Linked DNA regions of Homo sapiens: all the other regions are linked to region 1. The links are contacts of gene promoters, found by promoter capture Hi-C in blood cells and fetal thymus (Javierre and others, 2016). All regions are on one chromosome and are shown on one strand. Each heading gives the region's core, a stretch centred on a gene start or on the middle of the fragment in contact. The rest is flanking DNA. Distances are from core to core; before and after follow the strand shown.

Region 1 (3,688 bases), core at 812-3,311:
TGCCCTCTCATTCTCAAGGGGGTTCTGATTTTGGACAATAATGTACATAATTACCCTATAAAACAAAACCATCCCTGTTTATATGAACTTCCCTGTTTTCGAATCCAGTGGATGTTCTCAAAAAACAATACTGCCATTTCTAAAGCTCTTGGTCACAGTCTGCAAAGGAGCCTGAGGACTATGGACAACTGGACATATGTTTGTAAACAGCTTCAAAGGGGAATGGATGTGGTTTAACATGGAGAACAGTACCAGCAATTAAGGGTTTGTATTTAATTTTTACAAGTAAAAGTAAACGTTGAAGAAAGAGAGCAAGCCCTAACAATCTGAGATCATTTTTCCTTTATCTTTCACAACATGGAGGCACAAGAAGTCAACAACTTTTAACTTCTCAGAAGGCTCCCTGTGGATCAACTCAATCAATGTATCTGGGCCTCACTCCAGTAAGCCCCAACATTGGCTTTATTTATTAGAGAGATAAATAGCTCTGTGAGTTCACAACATGGTGAAAATTTTCTTAACAAAAACCACAGTCTTTAATTGGCTTCGAAGTTAGATGAAGAAATAAGTTTTAATATTGGCATTACATTGGATACTTTTCAAGAGTTCAGAAATATTAGTCTGCTTAATCTCCCCTTAAGATCTCAGAAGCACTGCAAAGGGAGTTATGTTTATGAAAACATTAAAACTGATTTTTCCCTAGTGTAACAATAACCATGTATCCTTATGCATTTGTAGTGTCGCCACTTTTTTTCTTTATCCTTCGTCAGAACTTGTGTTTATACAAATCAGACAGAAACCAGATTCAACCAACAGCTAAAAATTATTTACTCACATGCTTAGTTTAAAACATTCTGGTATCATACCACACCACACTGAAAAACATCACGACGTACTGTATGGAGTGGAACCAAATAAATACGCTAAAGAGTATTTTCCAGTATTCGCTGTTACAAAATCATAACATCCTATGATACAAACAACGAGATTGTATAACGTCCCCACATCGTTTTTTCAGAACTAACAAAAAAAAAAAAAAAAAGGTGGAGAAACTCAGCAAAACAAAGTGGCGAGAAAAGTCGGGGGAGGGGCGGTAGAAGAGAAGGGGCGGAGAAACACGACACTGAGGCGGTGATATCACCCACAGCCAACGGCATGGAATTCAGAAAGTTAAGTGTCACCCAGCAATCTCGGTGCGGACTCGCGGCGCGCCTGCACAGCGTGGCGGCTGCATCCCAGCCAAGCAGGAAGGGGGAGGGGGAGGCCTGACTGAGTTCGCTCGGGGGCAGCTGAGGGGAGGGCTGCCCGCCTCCCGGACGGCGCACGTTCGAGTCCCGGGTCGGGAGACTTGTCCGTCGCCCGACAATGATTTCATCTTTTCGGAAGAGCTGCCGCCTGGGCCGCGGCTGCCACGTGCCTGGTCTGGCCCCGTGCGCTGCGCCGGGGGACCTACCCGGACGGGGCCGCGGCCGCCGCGGGGCGCAGAGGCAGCAGAAGGGAAGGGCTGGCGGCCGGGAGGGGATCGGGGTGGCCAAAACTGGGCTAGGGGATTGCTCCGCGGAGTCCGCCGGCCTCAAGGGGCTGCCCTGCGGAGTGCACCCACCCTCCGCGCCCAAAGGCGGAAAGGCCAGAGCGCGGGGCAGGTTTCGCAACTCCGAGGGTGGATGCAGGCTGTGGCCGGGCGGGATGGAGCGGCCGTGCGTTTCCAGCGCCCCCGGCCTGGCGGAGCCCCATTCTCGGCCTGCGCCCCGCCGCGCAGTGCGCGCTCCCGGCGGCGTGACCGTGGCTGTCGGGCCCCCGCCCGAGCCGGGCAACCGGCCACCCGTGTAGGGGACAGTGGCGGCCGCGGGGCCCGGCGCCGCGCTGTTCGCAGCCCGCCACTCCTTCCGCGCTCCAGGCCCTCTGCGCCTCCTCCCCCGGCCCCGGAGAAATGCTTGTACCTTCCACCGCCTCCTCCACCATCTCGTCGTCGCTATCCATGGCGGCTGGGGACACTGCCCAGCTCGGGGCTGCGCGGCTGCCTCCCGTCCCTCTGGGTGCTCCCGGCGGCTGAGCGAGCTCTGGGGCTCGCGAGTTTGGAGGAGGAGGAGGAAGAGGAGGAGCAGTCGGGGCTGGCTCGCACTGCCTCCCCCTACAGCCCTTTCAATTCCTTGGCCTTCAGCTGCTGCGGCAGCAGCCGTCGTCCCCCCTCCCTTCGCCCACTTGCCCCTCGCCTCGGAGGCTCCGGTGTGCCGCCTTGGCCGCTGCCGCTGCTGCAACTTTCTCCTGTAATACCCTCTCTTTGTTATCGAGCAGCTGATCCGCTGACATCACCCAGCGCCGGTGCGCTCCCTCCCTCGCTGATTGACAGTTCCCTGTCCCTTTCCAGAAGTAAGGCTCCTTAAAACGAAAGGCGCTCCGGGGCCGCGCGTATTCCGCGTCCCAGCCAACCCGCCTCCGGCCCGTCAGCGTTTCTCTTTTGCTTAGGTGCGGCTTGGCGCGCCCCGAGCGCTCAACGCGGTCCTGGGCGCTGCGGGCTTCTCGCGGACACTTGGACCGCCCGTAGGGGCTCCGAGCTCCCGACCTCCCGTTGTGCCGGGAGCAACTTGAAAGTCCGTCGTGCACTGTCCGTGTTCCCTCGAGACAACCTCCAAAGTGCCAGGGAAGCTAAGGAAGCGTTTCTGACGCTCTGGCGCCTGGACTTCCTCTCACCCTCGCCCCCACATCACCCCGTCGCCACCGGGAGCTGCACGAGTGCGACACGCAAGGGAGCGCAGGTGTCCTCGCGGTCCCGCATCACATCCGCAAGCCGATTTCCCCAGCTCGGGGGCTGTTATCTGGCCCGGATTCCGCAGGATGGCGGGTCCACCCCAGCGCCCCCACTCCCCGCCCTCCTTCGGGTCGCCAGGCCCTCGGGTGATTCAGAAATTCATCAAATCCAAATGGCAGCGGGCTCTCTGTCAGGCAGGAAACAAGCCGCACCGAAGGCTCGGCAGGTTCCTCCTTGCTGCTGTGGTAATGGAAAAGGAGCCGCCGAGTGGAGCTAACGAGGAAGGAAGGACCCTCCGTCTGGCGCGCCTCTTTCCCGCGCCTCCCGCCCTGTACGTGTGATGTCCCCAGCTGTCTCTCTGTTTCTCCAAGTGCCAACCACTTCACAGATTCAGGCGTCCTCAAGTGGAGAAAACCATTGGGCACCCGGCTTCCGGCCCGGCCACTTAGTGTCGTTATGGCGCTGCCTCTTACAGGTGGCGGTAAAGGGCGACTGTAAATAGCCGATTAAACAGATGTAAATGTACACAATGTACCGTGGAATTACCGGGTGCCGCTCTGGGCACCCGCCAAGAACAGCTACTGCATGGAGGGGAGGAGGGAGCAAAAAAAAAGTAATTCCATTTTGTTTTCTGATCAATGAATGAGACTTTGGGGATTTCAAAATACTTCCAGCGCCCAGGAGACTACTCCTTGCTTTTGGCTCTGTGCTTAAATGGTAGATATTTTTGTCAAGTATTGCCGGCTTGTTTCTTAAAGTCAGCTTTTCCTCTATGAAAAAGAGAACAATGCTAGGGACATTAGCCCCACACACTTCCAGGAATTTCAGCCCCTTTGACTGTTTTAGAAAGGGGAGGGTCCTGGACCAGAAGTTAGGAGACTTGAGTCCTGGTGCTGCTCACCTGCAGAGGTGTCTTGGGAGCCCAGCCAGCCAGCCTGA
Region 2 (3,688 bases), core at 640-3,139, 510 kb before region 1:
CTGGAATATAGTTAACATGAAATCATTTCGAAACAAAAGATCTGTTGTTTGCTTCATCCACATAGTGAGAGGTGATTTAGTTTGGATGGGGTAATACAGTTTGGACAGAGAGCCACTCCAAGCATTTAAAGCAGAGGAAGCATTCTGAGGGTCTTGAGTGATGCCAAACCTCCTGGGTACTTTGAAGTCACGGTTTTGTAAGAGCTGACAACTGACTAGCTTTTTCTTTTCAGCTCTTGGAGAAGGCAAAGACAACTTTGTACAGTGCCCTGTTGAAGCACTCAAATGGGAAGAAAGGAAATGTCTCATCCTGGAAGAAATCCTGGCCTACCAGCCTGATATATTGTGCCTCCAAGAGGTGGACCACTATTTTGACACCTTCCAGCCACTCCTCAGTAGACTAGGCTATCAAGGCACGTTTTTCCCCAAACCCTGGTCACCTTGTCTAGATGTAGAACACAACAATGGACCAGATGGTTGTGCCTTATTTTTTCTTCAAAACCGATTCAAGCTAGTCAACAGTGCCAATATTAGGCTGACAGCCATGACATTGAAAACCAACCAGGTGGCCATTGCACAGACCCTGGAGTGCAAGGAGTCAGGCCGACAGTTCTGCATCGCTGTTACCCATCTAAAAGCACGCACTGGCTGGGAGCGGTTTCGATCAGCTCAAGGCTGTGACCTCCTTCAGAACCTGCAAAACATCACCCAAGGAGCCAAGATTCCCCTTATTGTGTGTGGGGACTTCAATGCAGAGCCAACAGAAGAGGTCTACAAACACTTTGCTTCCTCCAGCCTCAACCTGAACAGCGCCTACAAGCTGCTGAGTGCTGATGGGCAGTCAGAACCCCCATACACTACCTGGAAGATCCGGACCTCAGGGGAGTGCAGGCACACCCTGGATTACATCTGGTATTCTAAACATGCTCTAAATGTAAGGTCAGCTCTCGATCTGCTCACTGAAGAACAGATTGGACCCAACAGGTTACCTTCCTTCAATTATCCTTCAGACCACCTGTCTCTAGTGTGTGACTTCAGCTTTACTGAGGAATCTGATGGACTTTCATAAATACTTGCTTTTGTCTTTTTAATCACAGGAGTCTATTTTTTTTTTTTTTTTTTTTTTTTTGAGACAGAGTCTCGCTCTGTTGCCTAGGCTGGAGTACAGTGGCCTGATCTCGGCTCACTGCAAGATCCGCCTCCCGGGTTCATGGCATTCTCCTGCCTCAGCCTCCAGAGCAACTGGGACAACAGGCGCCCGTCACCACGCCCAGCTAATTTTTTGTATTTTTAGTAGAGACGGGGTTTCACCGTGTTAGCCAGGATGGTCTCGATCTCCTGACCTTGAATCACAAGAGTCTTAACAGGGAATGTTTCAGGAAACAAATAGGATAAGACAATGCCAGAGGAAGGATAGAAACATGGGAAGTTTCTATCATTTCATTTTCTGCGTTTCCAGCATGCCCTTGGAAAAGACTCCCTTTAGTCCCTTTTTCAATTAAAACCTATGGTGAAAAAGGCGTTTGCACTCCAATTTTGGCTTGTGTTGTTTTCTTTTCCTTAATATTACATTTTGATCATTTAAGGGCATTAAATTGGCTTGTTTTGGTCAGGTGTGGTGGCTGCTCATGCCTGTAATACCAACACATTGGGACGCCAAGGTGGGAGAATCACTTGAACCCAGGAGTTCGAGTCCAGCCTGGGCAACATGGCACGAGACCCCATCTCTATTTCTAAAATAATAATAAATTCGGTTATTTTGAAGCTTTTTCAATTTGAGGATGCTATAAAAACTTAGACTTGTTGCTTGAATCTTCCATAATAGTATGTAGGAGCAATTTCTCTAAACAGCATTTTAAGTTATTTATTTGTGGGTTTTTAAAATGTCAACAAAATGCATGGCAGTATTTATTTTTTATATCTTCATATAAAATTAAGTAAATTATAGCATTATGAACATTTTAGAACCATGCAAGAGAAGTTATAGAGAAAGTAATTTATGGTGATTTTCATAAAGCTTTAAAATATTTTCATTTGGGCTATAACAAAATGAGTACAAAGGAACTATTTAGCCTGGAGGGGCTTTTGTTATTTAAATGTCAGATTTCTTTGATACATTCTTCAAAAATAATCCTTGTCCTGCCTCTATGTTCCATTATTGTGTTTCTTTTTTTTTTTTTTGGAGACAGAGTCTCACTCTGTTGCCCAGGCTGGAGTGCAGTGGTGTAGTCTCGGCTCACTGCAAGCTCTGCCTCCCAGGTTCACACCATTCTCCTGCCTCAGCCTCCCAAGTAGCTGGGACTACAGGCGCCTGCCACCACGCCCGGCTAATTTTTTGTATTTTTAGTAGAGACGGGGTTTCACCATGTTAGTCAGGATGGTCTCAGTCTCGATCTCCTGACCTGGTGATCTGCCCGCCTTGGCCTCCCAAAGTGCTGGGATTACAGGCGTGAGCCACAGCGCCCGGCCTTATTGTGTTTCTTGAAGAGATTCCAATTAGTTTTCAATTATTTAACCAATTAGTTTTCATTATTGCTGTTATATTTAAACTTTACCATTGGAATAATATTGGTATGCGTTTGATATTAGTCACTCGATGTCATCATTATTTGTATTGGAATGTGCTATTCACAATAGGTTATTTAGAAGCTGTATGTGGCAGTGGCCAAGAGAGTCAGTAGGACCTTCTTTTCAGAGATAGGAAACTTTCTAGAAAGCCTGTTAATGGGCTTTCATTGAAATTTCCTAAGATAGCCAGATACTGTCATTCAAAATATCTAGAAAGAAGAATGTAAAAAGTTAGATAACCTGGGTCGGGTGTGGTGGCTCATGCTTGTAATCCCAGCACTTTCGGAGGCCAAGGTGGGCGGATCAACTGTGGTCAGGAGTTCGAAACCAGCCTGGCCAACATGGTGAAACCTCGTCTCTACTAAAAATACAAAAATTAGCTGGGCATGGTGGCAGGTGTCTGTAATCCCAGCTACTTGGGAGGCTGAAACAGGAGAATCGCTTGAACCTGGGAGGTAGAGGTTGCAGTGAACCCAGACTGCACCATTGCGCTCTAGCCTGGGCAACAAGAGTGAAACTCCATCTCAAAAAAACCTGGAATTCTCTTCCATCAGAAATAAAAGTAAAAATTACAGGTAAAGCCTCTTCCAAACAAAATAACTTATTGGTAATAGATATTTTAATTTGTGAGTTGTAAATACATAAGATTAATAAATGGTCTTTTAAACCTAGTGCTTTTAATGTCTTTGTAGTCCAAAAAGAATCTGGGAGTAGATTTTCTCCTTTAATACTGTTTTATCATAATGACCCACATATATCCATTCACACATGGAGCCTTCACTGTAAAAGTGAACGTACATAGATCTGTAGCTGCAACAACGTCCACTGAAATGGATCACTCATTCTTTAATAGAACCACTTTTAAAACAAATGAGGTTTTCAGAAGTAACATAGTATGCACAGAATTTTGGGGCTACTGGAAAGAATGACAAGCACGGGAACATCTACCAAATGTAGAATTGGTTCAGATTTTAGCATGACTAATTGCTAGTCATATGTTGTTGAGAACAATACTGATTAGAATACTCATTATTGCAGGTACATTGTTTACCTACCCCAAAATACTTCAACCGGAAGAGAAACCATGGCAGCCTTAAATAAATAAATCTGGATAAGAATG
Region 3 (3,688 bases), core at 588-3,087, 490 kb before region 1:
CTTGGGAGGCTGAGGCATGAGAATCGCTTGAACCCAGGAAGCAGAGGTTACAGTGAGCTGAGATCGCACCACTGCACTCCAGCCTGGGCGACAGAGTGAAACCCTGTCACAGGAAAAAAGAAAGAAAAAAGAACATTACTGCCTCTAAAAACAGATTTAAAAAAATTTTCTAATCGCTTTCTACTGATTACACCCAATAGACGGAAGATAATGTTTAAAGGATTTCATTATATATACTTATATCTTAAATTCTGAGGTCCTAAAATGGAAAAATATGGTAATTCCTTAAAATTAGTCAAGTATTCATCAAATGTTAACTGTAACATTAGCTCTGGATCACACTACTAGTAAAATTTTAAAATGAGGAAATATTAGAATATTTCTGCAGAATAAAATGCTTATTCATCGCATACCATGCTTAAGGAGATGAATTTAAAACCTGGTCCCTGCCTCAAGGAATTTATAATTTAGTTGAGAAGGGGAAAGAAAGTAGATGACAAGTTAAACAACAATGCAAGAAATAAATAACAATTTGAAACAATATAAGATCTATCACAAAGCAATGCATAATTAATTATATTCCAAATAATCTAGAAAATATGTCTGTGGGATTCCAAGAGTGAAAATAAAGTGGACTGGGAGGCCATCATGAAGTCTTGGAAGATGGCTAGGATGTGCATAAAAGAACAAAAAGGAATCTGGGCAAGTAAAAAAAAAAAACTTAATCCCAAAAGGAAGAAAGTATCACACTTTTTTCTCCCTTATTATGGAGGAGAGAGTAGTAGGCAGCGGTCATTAGAAGACGCTTTTCAGATTGTTTTTATTTTATTCCCTTCATAACCTCTAGGTGCCAAGGTTCTTATTAATAGAAGAACAGAAGGCTGGACGAGGTGGCTCACGCCTGTAATCCCAGCATTTTGGGAGGCCAAGGTGGGTGGATCACCTGAGGTCAGGAGTTCATGACCAGCCTGGCCAACATGGTAAAACCCTATCTCTACAAAAATACAAAAATTAGCCAGGCATGATGGCGGGTGCCTGTAATCCCAGCTACTCGCAAGGCAGAGGCAGGAGAATCCCTTGAACCCAGGAGGCGGATGTTGCAGTGAGCAGAGATCACGCCACTGCACTGCACCGCACTGCCTGAGCGACAGAACGAGACTCCGTCTCAAGAAAAAAAGAACAGAAAAGAGTCCTGAGACGAAAAAGATAGGTCATCTGTAGGATTCCATGCACTATTCGTTTACTATCCTTAAATCCAGTTCTAAGATACAGGCTATGTGGGAAGCTTCCAAAACAAGCCAGCACTACCCCAACACCTTCAGTCAAAGTACTGATGTTTTGTCTCTGGCATTTCACTTTCATTGTGGCTTTCTCTGAAAATCCAGTAAATTCATTAATAACACAGAGTTCAACCCATTATGCATCTACTGACCTGAAAAAGCTGACCTTCGGCCGGGCGTGTTGGCTCATGTGTGTAATCCCAGCACTTTGGGAGGCCGTGGCGGGCGGATCACCTGAGGTCGGGAGTTTGAGACCAACCTGACCGACATGGAGAAACCCCATCTCTACTAAAAATATAAAAATTAGCCGGGCGTGGTGCCACATGTCTGTAATCCCAGCTACTCAGGAGGCTGAGGCAGGAGAATCGCTTGAACCCGGGAGGCAGAGGTTGCAGTGAACTGAGATCATGCCATTGCACTCCAGCCTGGGCAACAAGAGCGAAACTCCACCTCAAAAAACAAAACAAAACAAAACAAAACAAAAAAAATGACTTTTAACTTTACAAAGTTACATTTGTATCTCTAGGACCCTATTACACCAGCATCACTACCTAAAAACTATTAAAACAAACCATGTATAATCTTCAGTTATTTTCTTTTTTTTGCATTTTTATTTTGTTCACATAGTAGTAAATGTGAGCAAAGATTTTACTCTGGAAGAAATGTTTGTATAACATAGACAATGCCCTGTACATAAGATATCTGAATGTTTCCATGTTTTGAATTAAACTCATCAAAATCCCTCATATTATCTTTAAACACTCACTGCACCCATGTTGCCATCCCCAAGTTAAAATGAACAATTCTAAGGAGGCCAAGGCTGAAGGATCACTTGAGCCTAGGAGTATGAGAATAGCCTAGGCAACATAGGGGGACCCGTCTCTACAAAAAATTTTAAAATTAGCCAGACACGGTGGTATGTGCCTGTGGTCCCAGCTACTTGGGAGGCTGAGGCAGAAGAATACTTTAGCCTGGGAGGCTGAGGCTGCAATGAGTTATGATCCTGTCACTGTATTCCAGCCTAGGTGACAGAGTGAGACCCTGTCTCTATAGAAAAAAATTATTAAAAATTATATTTCTGGTTTTAGGGAAAACAGGATTCAGAAAGAGAAGCTTTCTTTACCAGGTAATAAGGAATTTGCCTATGACTATTATCACAATTTTACAGAAGAAAAAACACTGGCTGGACTTTGAATACAGGTTTGACTGTAACAGCTTCAATTAATTACATTATAACACACTGCCTCAAATTTAATACAAGACTGAAATTGTAATGAGATGTGATTTTAATTGGTAAAAACTGGTCACAGTTTTTCTCCAGCGTTAAGCAAAAGATATTCAAGTATAAGTGATACCACTGAGGATAAGAATTATTTAAAAAGACAACAGTAATAACTGTATATTTACAGTTTAATTTTCTAATACATACTATGTTAACTTTTAAAGTTTTCAATATAAACTAAAAGAAGAAACCTAAGATGTTAGAAGTGTACAACAACCAAAGACAAACAAGGAAATAAGAAAAGTATCCTAAGCCTCTCCCAAATTGGGTCACCAGTTCCTGAATGTGTTCAATGTCACCTTTTTTTTTTTTTTTTTTTTTTTTGACCTAATGAAATACCAAATTTCTTGGTAGGCTTACTGGAGACAATTTTTTTTAAACTAGACTTAATTTCTGTTTTAATTATTTAAAATTATTAAATCAAACCACCTGATAAGGACAGAATAAATTTAAATATATTAATGTAAAATTTATCCAACTATTGAATATTGGTCTGAAAACACTTATTCATGAAAGTGATAAATTTTCGGTTATCAGATGGGCAGACAGAACACATCTAAAACCACTACTGAAATGATACTTTATCTGTCAGAATCTGAGTGACAAGAAAATTAAAGGCCAGGTACGGTGGCTCATGTCTATAATCCCAACACTTTGGGAGGCCAAGATGGGAGGATCGCTTGAGGCGAGGGGTTTGGGACAAGCCTGGGCAAAACAGGGGCACTCTGTTTCTACAAAAGATTTTAAAATTAAAAAAAAAAGATAATAAAAATAATTTTAAAAAGAAATGTTACTTGAAATCATCTTACTCCACAAATTAGGAAAGCACAGAATGGGGGAGGTTTGGTGCTGTTTTCATTTTTAATCAGGATACACAAATTCTAAAGCAAAAATAGGCAAGGGGCAGTGGCTCACGCTTATAATCTCAGCACTCTGGGAGTGTGAGGCCGGAGGATCTCTTGAAGCTAGGAATTCGAGATCCGCCTGGGCAACAAAGCACAAGACCCCCATCTCTTAAAAAAAAAAAAAACAAATTAGCTGGGTGCGGTGGTGTGTGCGTGTAGTCCCAGCTACTTGGGAGGCTACAAGCACAGTAGCGCAAGGCTGCAGTGAGGTATGGTCATGC
Region 4 (3,688 bases), core at 779-3,278, 450 kb before region 1:
TTTTAACTGCATCCATTGAAATACAGAAAAAAAATAAAAATTAAGTGAAAACAATTTAAAAATACTCTGAATTTTATCTTAAGTGCAATTAGAATCCACTGAAAGATTTTAGGGAGGGAGTATCACTATTCCACTTACAAATTTATATTTTAAATCACTTTGGCTACTATGGTGAGCATAGATTGCTGGGGGTAGGAGGAGGAGGCAATAATGAAAACAGGCTGATTAGAAGGCCAAAGGCCATCAACATAGCTCATGTAAAAAAACTACAGAGTGAACTAGCCTAGTAGCAATGAAGATAGGAAGACTCGAGATATACTTTGGAGGCAAAATTAACATGATTTGGTAATGGACTGGGAGAAGGTAGGAAAAGGTATAAATAAATGACTTCTCAACTAGAAAATTCTTTTCTTCCCAATGAAATTTTATTTATCCTCCCAAACTCAACTAAAATGTAAACTTCCCATCAGAATAGCTAAGATCTGTCTCCTTCACTATTATAACACTAATATTATTAAACCTTAGGTTATGAAGAGTTGTTTCCTTATATATTTTCCCCACAAATGAGTGAGTTTCTTTACAGGAGGGGCCATATCTAATTTCTTGCTCTAGTTCACATAAAAAAAACACAGTGCCACACACATCACAGGTCATCTCAGGTAACCCCACTAATGGTCTCAGATCCAGGACAACTCCTTATTCTTTTGTTCTTCCTTTGATAAGCACAAGAATTCAGTCTGCTTTCTTCTCCTTTCAGCTCTTCTATTTTTTGGAGTTCTGTTTTCCCTAAGACTAGCTGCAGAATTAACTGCAGTCTCTCATTAGCCCTTCCCATTTCTTGTGGCCTCCAAAAACAAATATATGGGGATTCTTTTTGTAAAGTGCTTGGTACTAATTATTATGGAGAAACAGAGGATAACAAAATTAGACACAGGATTTATATGATCTTACAATAGTGGTCTCTGACCTATACAATACTTGACTCCTTTTGTAAGACGGTAAACTGAATGCACTGGCTTCTGATCTTTACTTTTATTCCCAAGGATAAAGGTCACTAAAGGTTCTTCCTTTTTTATGGAGGCCTCCCTTCCCAGAACATAGGCCTTCAGATGAAGCCTAGCCAAAATAATCAGTGCTTCTTGTCTCAAGTAAATAACTTGCACCTGATAGCCTCCTAAGTATGTAATATTAGCAATGGAATTAAAAACAAATGTAATTCTGCCAGCCTTGTTTTTCCAAACAAAATGAAAAAAGCTTAATGTTGTAAACCTAGATACTAACTATAGACCAATGTCCCTAAAGAAAAAGATAAAAAAAAAAAAGGGGGGGATGTCAAGTTTATTCAAGAAAGTAAATGTCTCAAAAAGAAATTACCACCTTTTAATTTCTTTCTCCTCTTGAACCAAGTTCTTGGTTTCCTCTTCAAAAGAAGTTTTTCATTCTCAGTAATTATTCTAAATCCTGCCTTTATTTTCCAACTATTACACATCAGAAAAAAGGTCATATGGGGAAAAAAATTCAGATTTTCCTGAAAGACTTGTCAAACACCATATATAAGAAGTATCAGGGCCGGGCGCAGTGGCTCACGCCTGTCATCCCAGCACTTTGGGAGGCCGAGGTGGGTGGATCACGAGGTCAAGACATCGAGACCATCCTGGCTAACACAGTGAAACCCGGTCTCTACGAAAAAAAAAAAAAAAATACAAAAAATTAGCCGGGCGTGGTGGGTGGTGGCGGGCGCCTGTAGTCCCAGCTACTCGGGAGGCTGAGGCAGGAGAATTGTTTGAACCCAGGAGGCGGAGGTTGCAGTGAGCGGAGATAGCACCACTGCACTCCAGCCTGGGAGACAGAGGGAGACTCCGTCTCAAAAAAAAAAGGAAGTATCGGCCGGGCATGCTGGCTCACGCCAGAATTCCCAGCACTTTGGGAGGCTGAGGCAAGCGGATCATCTGAGGTCAGGAGTTTTAGACCAGCCTGGCCGAGATGGTGAAACCCCATCTCTACTAAAAATAAAAAAATTAGCCAGGCGTGGTGGCGGGCACCTGTAATCCCAGCTACTCGGGAGGCTGAGGCAGCAGAATTGCTTGAACCCAGGAGGCGGAGGTTGCAGTGAGCTGAGATCATGCCACTGCACTCCAGCCTGGGCGACAGAGCAAGACTCCATCTCCAAAAAAAAGAAGTATCTTTTTGCTAACTAGATCGGAGACATAAATGTTTTTTTTTTTCCCCCCTGAGACAGGGTCTCGCTCTGTCAGAATGCAGTGTCAGGATCACAGCTCACTGCAGCCTTGACCTACCAAGTGCAAGCAATCTGCCCACCTCAGCCTCCAAGTGGCTGGGACTTCAGGCACCTGCCACTATGCCCGACTAATTTTTGTATTTTTTGTACAGATGGGGTTTTGCCATATTGCCCAGGCTAACCTTTTCTTTTTGATGTAAAACTTTCTCATGATCTTTTGCAAGTTCATCTACTGATAAGAAAATCTCCCAAGTTCTAGCTGTGATATTGTGAAATATGTGTGAAATATATATATTTAGTCTTGCTCCCCATTTCCTGGCATACAAGTCCTAAAATCCTTGGAATCTCCAAAGTAGTAAGTGTTCTTTTGTGTGCTAAAGATTGAGTAATGGCTGGCAGCCCCTAGGTATCTTCAGGATGGGGGCTAGTCACCAGAAAGACCAAGGCAGGATTATAGGGTTGGGACTTTCAGCCCCACTCCCAACCTCTGGGCCTCGGGAAACAGGGCTGAAGGTTAAGTCAACCACCAATAGCCAATGACTTAATCAATCATGCCTACTTAATCAAGCTTCCATAAAAACCCAAAACGAATGAGTTCAGAGACTTTCCTGATAGCTGAACATGTGGAGGTTCCTGGAGTGTGGCATGCCCAGCAAGGGCATGGGACCTCCATGACCCTTCCCCAATACTTCACGCCCTATGCATTTCTTCATCTGTATCCTTTAAATATCCTTTATGATAAACTGGTAAATGTGTTTCTCAGAGGATCTGATGCTATCTCCAAGTAGACAGTGTCAGAACTGAATTGAATTAGAGGACACCCAGCTGGTGTCCACTACAGAACTGACTGACTAGTTTATTGGTCGGGAGAAATCCCACACACTTCATGGTAATCAGATGTCCCAGAGGTCTTCTGTGTTAACTGTTGAGAGCATAGTGAGACAAAGAGTTTGCTTTTCTACTCACTAACAAATAATTGTTTAAAGATATTCTTAAGTCCTGAAAAATAATTGCATATTATCACCACCCAGTTTAATATAAAACATATGAAAAGTATTTTAGTTAAATAAAAAAAGTAATTGCTCATTCCCTTCAAGTAGTGTATATATTTTGGCATATTTACAAAGTGAAAAGAAATCAAACACCCAATTATGACCAAACACTGACTTTAAACCAGGAGAAAACAGCATAGGACTTCTTTCATTTAAAAACAAAAACAAACAACAACAAAAAACTGTTATTCTAATGAAAATAAAGGCTATAAAGCTACATTTGTCTCTTGATATACTCAATGAAAAAAATATACAGGAATGTTGGCTGGGCACGGTGGCTCATGCCTGTAATCCCAGCATTTTGGGAGGCCGAGGTGGGCAGATCACTTGAGGTCAGGAGTTCGAGACCACCCTGGTCAACATGGTGAAACCCTGTCTCTATTAAAAACACAAAAAT

Evidence for each region. The method cuts DNA at HindIII sites, captures the fragments that hold promoters and counts their contacts. A CHiCAGO score of 5 or more calls a contact.
Region 2: a fragment that was not itself captured here is called in contact with the fragment with the promoter of SETD7 in region 1 in 1 of 17 cell types (total CD4 T cells); the score reaches 5.5 in total CD4 T cells.
Region 3: a fragment that was not itself captured here is called in contact with the fragment with the promoter of SETD7 in region 1 in 1 of 17 cell types (total CD4 T cells); the score reaches 5.2 in total CD4 T cells.
Region 4: a contact is called between a fragment that was not itself captured here and the fragment with the promoter of SETD7 in region 1, in 2 of 17 cell types (fetal thymus and naive B cells). The highest score is 6.8, in fetal thymus.

The regions. Positions count from the first base shown.
Region 1 is chr4:139,554,158-139,557,845 of GRCh38, forward strand. SETD7 (SET domain containing 7, histone lysine methyltransferase) reads right to left here and starts at 2,062. Exons shown (of 8, transcript NM_030648.4): 1 at 1,941-2,062. The coding sequence starts at 1,980. RefSeq lists silencers at 1,370-1,559, 1,690-1,859, 1,920-1,979, 2,200-2,309 and an enhancer at 3,050-3,219. The HindIII fragment of the contact is 7,816 bases long and covers 1-3,688 here.
Region 2 is chr4:139,044,406-139,048,093 of GRCh38, forward strand. It overlaps NOCT (nocturnin), which reads left to right. Exons shown (of 3, transcript NM_012118.4): 3 at 234-1,534. The coding sequence ends at 1,069. Among named protein-coding and RNA genes, the nearest start is that of NOCT, 30 kb to the left of the region's middle. The HindIII fragment of the contact is 252 bases long and covers 1,764-2,015 here.
Region 3 is chr4:139,063,148-139,066,835 of GRCh38, forward strand. The region is part of intron 7 of ELF2 (E74 like ETS transcription factor 2); the gene reads right to left. Among named protein-coding and RNA genes, the nearest start is that of NOCT, 49 kb to the left of the region's middle. The HindIII fragment of the contact is 1,108 bases long and covers 1,284-2,391 here.
Region 4 is chr4:139,100,674-139,104,361 of GRCh38, forward strand. The region is part of intron 4 of ELF2 (E74 like ETS transcription factor 2); the gene reads right to left. Among named protein-coding and RNA genes, the nearest start is that of ELF2, 75 kb to the right of the region's middle. The HindIII fragment of the contact is 1,553 bases long and covers 1,253-2,805 here.